Regions from separate parts of the Homo sapiens genome. Here regions 1 and 2 are each linked to region 3. Evidence: promoter capture Hi-C in 16 types of primary human blood cells and fetal thymus (Javierre and others, 2016). All regions are on one chromosome and are shown on one strand. Each heading gives the region's core, a stretch centred on a gene start or on the middle of the fragment in contact. The rest is flanking DNA. Distances are from core to core; before and after follow the strand shown.

What was found. The method cuts DNA at HindIII sites, captures the fragments that hold promoters and counts their contacts. A CHiCAGO score of 5 or more calls a contact.
Region 1: a contact is called between a fragment that was not itself captured here and the fragment with the promoter of LYN in region 3, in 1 of 17 cell types (total B cells). The highest score is 5.6, in total B cells.
Region 2: a contact is called between a fragment that was not itself captured here and the fragment with the promoter of LYN in region 3, in 1 of 17 cell types (M0 macrophages). The highest score is 5.8, in M0 macrophages.

What each region holds. Positions count from the first base shown.
Region 1 is chr8:54,145,571-54,148,671 of GRCh38, forward strand. It overlaps MRPL15 (mitochondrial ribosomal protein L15), which reads left to right. Exons shown (of 5, transcript NM_014175.4): 5 at 1,812-2,944. The coding sequence ends at 2,149. Among named protein-coding and RNA genes, the nearest start is that of MRPL15, 12 kb to the left of the region's middle. The HindIII fragment of the contact is 4,802 bases long and covers 1-3,101 here.
Region 2 is chr8:54,163,135-54,166,000 of GRCh38, forward strand. No RefSeq gene overlaps it. Among named protein-coding and RNA genes, the nearest start is that of MRPL15, 29 kb to the left of the region's middle. RefSeq lists an enhancer at 2,533-2,582. The HindIII fragment of the contact is 2,721 bases long and covers 111-2,831 here.
Region 3 is chr8:55,878,539-55,881,582 of GRCh38, forward strand. It overlaps LYN (LYN proto-oncogene, Src family tyrosine kinase), which reads left to right and starts at 1,297. Exons shown (of 13, transcript NM_002350.4): 1 at 1,297-1,565. RefSeq lists enhancers at 391-480, 1,041-1,100 and silencers at 1,251-1,310, 1,331-1,500, 1,581-1,870, 1,901-2,080. The HindIII fragment of the contact is 13,046 bases long and covers 1-2,922 here.

The DNA of each region.
Region 1 (3,101 bases), core at 46-2,545, 1.7 Mb before region 3:
TCAAGAAATCCTGCCACCTAGGCCCCCTGAGTAACTGGGACTACAGGTGCATGTCACCATGCTAACTTTTTTTTGTTTTATGTTTTGTAGAGATGAGGTCTCACTATGTTGCTCAGGCTGGTCTTGAACTCCTGCGCTCAAGCAATTCTCCTACCTCCCAAGGTGCTGGCATTAAAAGCATGAGCCATTGTGCCTGGTCTACAAATTTCTTTCTTAAATATATTTTGAAGATACTTTCTTGATGATTCAAGGACATCCACTATTTACTTACCCTCTGTTGTAGGTGAAGTAGGTAGGATGGTTTATCCAGAGCATGACCTGGCTTTAGGTGGCTCTGCTTTATAATTCTTGGTCTCGACCCTTAGCAGATAGCTTCCAGTTCTCATTTCTGTGAGTGGCCTGCCTGGAGTACCTCCTAATCACCATTTCTCATTTGCCCTGTGTGGAGATACTGCTAGGTGATGCAATATATTAGAGCTGTATAAAACAGCTGTCAGATTCTTGCATTCAGCAAACAGCCAGAGGCTAGTGTTTGCTAGATACTGTTCCAGCTGATGGAGAGACGATAGTGCAAGAGTCAAAAGTCCTTTCCTGGCCGGGCGCAGTGGCCTCACGCCTGTAATCCCAGCACTTTGGGAGGCCAAGTGAAGTGGATCACCTGAGTTCAGGAGTTCAAGACCAGCCTGGCCAACATGGCAAAACCCCATCTCTACTAAAAATACAAAAATTAGCTGAGCATGGTGGTGCATGCCTGTAATCCCAGCTACTTGGGAGGTTGAGGCAGGAGAATCACTTGAGTCTGGGAGGCAGAGGTTGCAGTGAGCCGAGATCATGCCACTGTACTCTAGCCTGGGCGACAGAGCGAGACTTTGTCTCAAAAAAAAAAAAAAAAAAGTCCCTTCCTTCACAGAGCTTACGCCCTGGTGGGTGATAGTTAACATCTGTCTCATTGTATACCAAATACTATACATGTGTGAATGGATTCTGTGGATTACATCAGGTAAACTTTGTAACTGCTCTGTGACATATGTACTATTATTTTGAGGTTCTCAGTAATTTCCTTAGTACTGTTTTGATTTCTGTAACCAGCTTTGGTTAAGGTTGCATTGCTAACACGATGAGTAGAGTGTCAGTTGTATTCATACAGTTATCTATTTGTGTAATTGCTTTCTAAGCTATCTAAAGGCCCTGTGGCATCTGTGATATCTTGTGCGTAGGCCTTTTTTTCACTATCTCACTTTCAGAACATGTGTCTCGGGTCCTTTAAAATGTTTGAAAACAGAACTGGGGTTATGCAGCATTCCTTGGTTTGTTTCACATAAGATTTCTTTGCCTGCTCTTTAGTTAAGATAACTCATTTTAGTAAAATTGGTTTTCCAGATACAGGTATGGTTGCTCATGCCTGTAATCCCAGCACTTTGGGAGGCCCAGGTGGGTGGATCACCTGAGGTCAAGAGTTCCAGACCAGCCTGACCAACATGGTCAAACCCCGTCTCTACTAAAAATACAAAATGATCCGGGCGTGGCGGCATGTGCCTCTAATCCCAGCTACTTGGGAGGCTGAGGCAGGAGAATTGCTTGAACCCATGAGGCAGAGGTTGCAGTGAGCCGAGATGGTGCCATTGTACTCCAGTCTGGGCAACAAGAGTGAAACTGCGTCTCAAAAAAAAAATAATAAAAATTAATAATCAAGAGAAACTCTGTAACATCTCTATGGTACAGAGTTACATCTCTATGTTAGAGTTACATCTCTAGGTATGTCTATGAGCTAATATTTGCATCTCACTTTTTAAATTTAAATTTTCTTTTAGACATTGTATGCAAACCTGTTCCATTCTTTCTTCGTGGACAACCCATTCCAAAAAGAATGCTTCCACCAGAAGAACTGGTACCATATTACACTGATGCAAAGAACCGTGGGTACCTGGCGGATCCTGCCAAATTTCCTGAAGCACGACTTGAACTCGCCAGGAAGTATGGTTATATCTTACCTGATATCACTAAAGATGAACTCTTCAAAATGCTCTGTACTAGGAAGGATCCAAGGCAGATTTTCTTTGGTCTTGCTCCAGGATGGGTGGTGAATATGGCCGATAAGAAAATCCTAAAACCTACAGATGAAAATCTCCTTAAGTATTATACCTCATGAATTCCCGTCCAAGGAAGCAGAGTTGTTAAAGAGTACTGGAATAGGGGCTGAAGGATCTATATTCCCTTATTGCATTTTCCTTATGTATAATTTTCCAGATGGTGATGTTACTTTTCAGTGTACTCATATGTCTCATTTTCATCTAAAATTAAATGGCAGGAAACAAGGACTGCATAGAGAAACTGAGTCTGTGTGGGTTCTGTCTCAAAGATACAAACTCCCTGATAGTCTATGGAAGGAAAATGACAACTATTTTAGAATATTTCTAGTTTGTTTTTTCAGTGATCTTTTCATCCAGGCCTTGTTACTGTTACAGATCAGAATGAAATGCACAAGTGGAATGGGATTGACCTGTAGGCCTGCTCTGCCGAGATGAGAGCAGATGGAATGAGTTGGTGACCCCTCTTAATCTGTAGCCTCAGGGAAACACGGCTACCCAATGCCAAGATGGTAAACCCTCAACTCGAAGAGTAAGATCAGGACGTATGCTTAAGGTGTAAGGCTGAGGAGTAGCTGGTAGGCAGTATGTTTGCCAGTGACATTGAAGGTGAGAGAAACAAAAATTACAAATGAATTTATTTTCTCAATTCTGTGGTAGAAGTGTTACAGGCAGGCCTTTGTTCTTAGAGCTCCCAAGATGGTGGTGGCCACTCCCAAGATGGCAGCAAGCCTTTTGTTCTCTGACCTGGGGTTCTTGGCCTCACGGATTCCAAAGAATGGAACCTTGGGCCATGTGGTCAGTGTTATAGCTCTAGTAGAAGTCATGGGTCACGGAAGAGAACTGTGGAACCCAGTGACTAGTGTTCAGCTCGATTAGGATGAACCCTGGGCCCTTAGCCATGCAGGAACAATGGTGAGCCTCTAGCCCGATTGGGAGCGGCAATGGACACCTCTCTGGATCAGAAGCACAGCGGACACCCTGCTGGATCCAGTGGGTGGAAGTCAATGGTGG
Region 2 (2,866 bases), core at 221-2,720, 1.7 Mb before region 3:
TCTTTTTCAAGATGGTTTTGACTCCTCTGGGCCCCTTGAATTTCCATACAAATTTGAGAATCACCTTGCCAATTTCTGCAAAAATGGCAGCTTGCATTTTGATAAATGCAAGCTTTAAATTTGTAGATCAATTCAGAGAATATGGCTATTTTAACAATACTAAGTCTTCTAGCCAGACATGGTGGCTCACTTCTGTAATTCCAGCACTTTGGGAGACCAAAGTGGGAGGATCACTTAAGCCCAGGGGTTTGGGACCAGCCTAGGCAACATAGTGAAACTCCATCTTTACAAAAAAGTAAAAAATAAAAAATTAGCTGGTGGAACATGCCTATAGTCTCAGGTACCTGAGGGACAGGCAGAGGCTAAGGTGAATCCCTTGAGCCCTGGAGGTTGAGGCTGCAGTGAGCCATGATTGTGCCACTGTACTCCACCTTGAGTGACAAAGTGAGACCATGTCTCAAAAAAAAAAGTCGTCTAATCCATGAACATGGGCTATCTCTTATCAGTATGTGTTTTTGTCTTTTATTCTATTAATTTGGTGTATTACATTGATAGATTTTCAGATATTAAACCAACCTTGTATACCTGGGATAAATTCCACTTGGTCATAGTATATAATCCTCTTTTATATGTTGCTGAATTTGGATTGCTTGTATTTTGTTGAGTTTTGCATGTATCATTTAAAATATATTTGTAGTTTTTTGTGATGTCTTTGGTATCAGTGTTATACTAGGCAAATAGAATGATTTCGAAGTGTTTCCTCCTCTTTTTTTTTTTGAAGAATTTTTGAAGAATTGGCATTAATTCTTTAAATATTTGGTAGAATTCACCAGTGAAGTCATCTGACCCTGGGCTATTCTTTGTGGGAAGTTTTTGATTAATAATTCTCTTGTTATACATCTTTTCAGATTTTCTATTCTTTTTTATTTCTCTTTTTTTCTGTGATTTTCTACTCTTCTTGAGTCTGTTTTTGTAGTTTGTGTCTGTCAAGTAATTTATCCATTTCAACTAGGTTATCTAATTGGTTGGCACACAATTTTTCACAGTGTTCTCTTTATTTTTATTATTTTATTTTATTTTTGAGACAGAAATGTGCTCTGTCACCCAGGCTGGAGTGCAAGTGGCATGATCTGGGATCACTGCAACCTCTGCCTCCCGGGTTCCAGCCATCCTTCTGCCTCAGCCTCCCGAGTAGCTGGGACTGCATGCATGCACCACCATGCCCAGCTAATTTTTGTATTTTTAGTAGAGATGGAGTTTCACCATGTTGGTTAGGCTGGTCACAGTGTTCTCTTATAATTCTTTTATTTATTTTTTATATTTCTTGAGACAGGATCTCACTCTGGTTGTCCAGGCTGGAGTGCAGTGGTGCCATCTCAGCTCACTGCAGCCTAAACCTCCTGGGCTCAGGTGATCCTCCCACCTCAGCTTCTCGAGTAGCTGGGACTATGGGCAAGCATCACCATGACTTGCTAATTTTTTGTATTTTTAATAGAGGTGAGGTTTCACAATGTGTCCCAGGCTGGTCTCAAACTCCTGGACTCAAGCAATCCACCAGCCTCGGCCTCTCATGGTGCTGGGATTACAGGTGTAAGCCACCATGCCAGGCCTGTTATAAGCCTTTTTTATTTTGGGTTGGGACTGTTGTCTTATTCATTTCTGATTTAGTCATTTGCTCTGCACGTGGTAAAAGATACCTTTTATATTACCATAAGAATATTTATAAACCAAAACTTTAAAATATTTCAATTTTTTAAAATTTGAGACAGAGTCTCGCTCTGTCGTCCAAGCTGGAGTGCAGTGGTGTGATCTTGGCTTACTGCAACCTCTGCCTCCTGGGTTCAAGCAATTCTCCCACCTTAGCCTCTCGAGTAGCTGGGATTGCAGGCACATGCCACCACCCCTGGCTAACTTTTGTATTTTTAGTAGAGATGGGGTTTCTCCATGTTGGCCAGGCTGGTCTTGAACTCCTGGCCTCAAGCAATCCACCTGCCTCGGCCTTCCAAAGTGCTTGAATTATAGGCATGAGTCACCGTGCCCTCCCCAAAACATTTTTTTTAATGTAAAGAAACTTACATTTAAAATAAAACTAGAATAGTAGACATACTATGTGCAAATGCCATAAATTGACATCCAGTCTGCCAACATAAGGATTCTATACATTTTTCTTGTGTACTTTCTGTAAGTCCTAAACATTTTCCTTCACAGTGCCTTCTCATATCAAGCAGAGGTTTGTGGTTATTTCTCTTCCCTGACTTCAATATTACATTGACATCAAATCATCACTCAACTGATTTTAAGATGAAAGACCACTGGTTTGGAGGACTAAGATTTATAATGCAGCAGGTGTTATAAACTGCTGACTGTCTTAAATATAAGGAGTGACTCTGGCCCAGAGAAATTCCTGGGGAGGCTGGGTCTCTTTTTATTGCTTCTCCCGTATGTAGGTGGGACAGTTCTCAGGAGGGATTGGGTCATTGTTCTGTGTACAAAAGTTGCTGGAGGCAGAGGTAGAAATTTGCTGTCTTGCACAGGGAGATGTGACAGAGAATTTTAGGCCATAGCCCAGTCCAGCCAGCTGTAGCTCAGTGTTGCTGATAGCGAGCCTAGTTCCTCTCTGGAGTCACATTGGTCAGAATAACCTGACACTGGGAAAGGAGTTATTCTAATGCATACTTATTGCTTCCTATTAATACCGTATGTAGCATCTCTGCAATTTTATTGCATTAACTGGAGAATGAGAAAGTGTTAGCTGCTGCTGGATATTGTCCGGAGTTAGAGAAGCTGCCATTATATTCCCCTCATGACTCGCCGCTGGCCCCTGCTGTCGAAGCTTCGCTGTGGCTTCACTCTCAGGGCGTGTATC
Region 3 (3,044 bases), core at 47-2,546:
GGCCCTCAGGTAGTGAATTATTCTGTAGGATTCATTGTTTTTTGTTTCATTTTGTTTTGTTTTGTTCTTTTTTCATTTTTCTATTTTTCTCCATAGGATTCTTGATAGGTTTCAATCACACACCTTCCCATGGGTATTTCCATGGGCAACCCACCCCTTCTCTTCAGCAGTAAACTAACAACTACATACCAGTGAACATCACAGGTATAAACCACCTTTCTTCTTTTAAGGAATTAGTATGCAAACTTTAGTACTCTTTTCCTAGTAACAAATAACTGCTGTATCAGATTGTGTCACAAGGCAGCTGCTTTGACTTATTGCTCTGTAGCTGGGGTCAGCCTCTTCAGAACATTGTTAATGAGAGAAAGGAAGTGCTTTGGGCAGTGTCTGGCCCATCAGGCCCTCTGTAAATGTTTGCTATTAATGCAATGCTGAGATCCCAGTGAACAGAATCTGGCTTAGAAGAAGTGGGTATCCACGGTGCCCGAGCCTAATCTTACATCTTGGATTTGTAAGTGGCATTTATTGAGTTGAACATGAGCTTGAGCACGCGGTCACACATTCTTTCAGCAAACACTGGTTAGGCACCAGCTGCTACGTGCAAGCACTGCCCTACATGCTGGGACGCAGCTGTAGTAGGAATGAAATAACGCCAGCATTCCTGCATGCGGGCAGTGCGGGCCCTGTACAGAAAGGTACACGAGATAGGCATCCTCACATCCATTGTCCTGGGAGGAAACTGAGGCTTTGAGAAACGGAGAACTTGCCGGGCCATTTGACTCTACGTCATCCCCTCCCCCATCAATGCCCTGAACAGCCTCCTGTACACCCTTAAGGAACTTACTTTGTAATGATTATTAAGAACTCAGCGAGACCCCGAGCATCACCTCGGCATATCGCATCCTTTCTCTAGAGAACCCCTAATGTTGGAAGGGATCAGAGCGCACCTCCTCCGCTCCTGGGAGCACCCCCTTCCTAATAATACCTTGGGGATGGGTCGGAAGGAAAGGAAAGGAGACGCGAGAGGTGTAGTCGATGTGCCTGCGAAGCCCAGGCTCCTCTGGAGATCCTTCCGTCCGTCCCTACAGGAGAAGGCTGGCCCGGGCTGCTCCACTCCCCGGAGCTGCAGACTGAGTCGCCAGGTTTCTGTGCCTTCAAAGCCCTGCGCGACGGCCACACCAAACACCCAAACCTTGGGCAGGGACCAAACGGTCACTTCCCCGCCCTCCGGGCTCAATATGCAAATCCGAGCACCAGGAAGTAGCTGGGACCTCTCGGCCGAGCCCAGAGACAGCCAGTTCCTCTCCCGCCGCGCCGGGCCGCGCTGCCGCTCGCTCCCCGGCCGTGGCGCCTCCGGGCCAGACGCGCTGCAGCCTCCAGCCCGCGGCAAGCGGGGCGGCCGCGCCACCCCCGGCCCCGCGCCAGCAGCCCCTCGCCGCGCGTCCAGCGTTCCCGGCCAGCAGCCTCCCCATACGCAGGTCCTGCTGGGCCGCCCCGTCGCGCCCCCCACTCTGAACTCAAGTCACCGTGGAGCTCCGCCGCCCCGAAACTTTCACCGCGAGCGGGTGAGTCCTCTGCGCGAGCCCAGGGGTGGGCGCGGGCACGCGGGCAGTGGGTGCAGGGGCCGCGGCTGTGCCACCAGCCGGAGTCCCGGGCGCAGGGTAGACTCGGGGCCGGGGGCATCGGCGCGGCCCGCGGCGGCTTCCTGGCCGCACCGCCTCTGGGCTCCGGCGGCGAAGGCTCTTAGATGTCTTCAGCCGACGGGTGACCGGGCCCGGGGGAGCCAGGGCGCGGGGACTGAGGCTCCGCAGGTGTCCGCCGCGGAGCCGCGCAGGGGAGCGGTGGGAGGTGCGGGCGCGGGGGCGGGCTCACCGCGTGTCCTTCCCGGTGAGGGCCCGAGGGCCGGCTGCTGTCCCTGCTCCGGCCGCTTCTCGCACACAGTGGGGAAGCCGCTGCCCTTGCGGAGCGGGCGCGCGGCGGGGATACTGGAGAGGACTCCTCGGATTGTGCAATCTGATCTCCCCTCTGGACCCTGGGTCTCCTGGCAGTGGGAGATGGGGCTCGGCCGGCGCCCTCTCGAGGCCCGCGGACAGTTGCCCTCCCTGGTGGCCCCGGGCAGGAGCGTGACGTCGAGGGGCTGCAGCGGAGGCTGGAACTCACCCTCCCGCTGCGGCGCCTCTCGGCCTGCCGAGGAGCAGTCCGGTGCTTTTGCCGGCTGAGAGGAAGCGAGAGTTATTTTAAGAATTCAGGGGTTGCCTTTCCTTCGCCTTGGGGGAAGGGCGTAAGAGTCAGTTCCCACTTTCCTGCATTCTCTGGGCCCATGGTGGCATCTTTTGCTTGCGGTGCATTCGTAACTTTCCAACAGCCTGCCTGTCATGTGGATTAGCGGTTGTGTTTTTGTATATCCGAGTGTGTTAATTATCCCAAATTCGCCCTTCTTCGCCAGCTCAGAATCTAGGCCTTGCACTTTTCTGGCTGTATATTTAGGGGACCGATTATTGAAATTCCCTGTTTGAGTTTCTTCATCTTTGAGAGAGCATATATACCTCAGGGGCTGTTTAGTACACACAAAGCCCCTAGTACGTACCAAGCATTTCATAAACGATGTTACTGTTATTTATTGCAGTGAATTCTATTCATATAAATGAGGCTTCTTGGTTCTTTGCAGCTTGGTGATGTTGAAGCTAAGACTACCATGTCAGATTTAGCCATCTGACCTTATTAGTAAATCTGCTTAATAAATACATGAGGGATTTGCTGTCCCAAAGCAGGGCCCAGTAGTCTGACTTTCCCTAAAGAACTAGCCAATAAACTGGTGGGCTACAGGGATGTTTTCTCTGTACAGCCAACACCTAAAGCCATGCCCTGGGGAATAGGCACTGCAAGAACCCAGGCCTTACTAAGCCCTTCTCTGTAAGAGTAAGCTTTGTTGGGAAAGGGTGGGATCCAGTTAGTCCCTCCATTCTCATTTGGAGGTAAGCAGGTAAGCGCTTTGAGGCCTGAATAAATTTCACTGGATCATAGAGTCTTTGGTGACTGGGCCT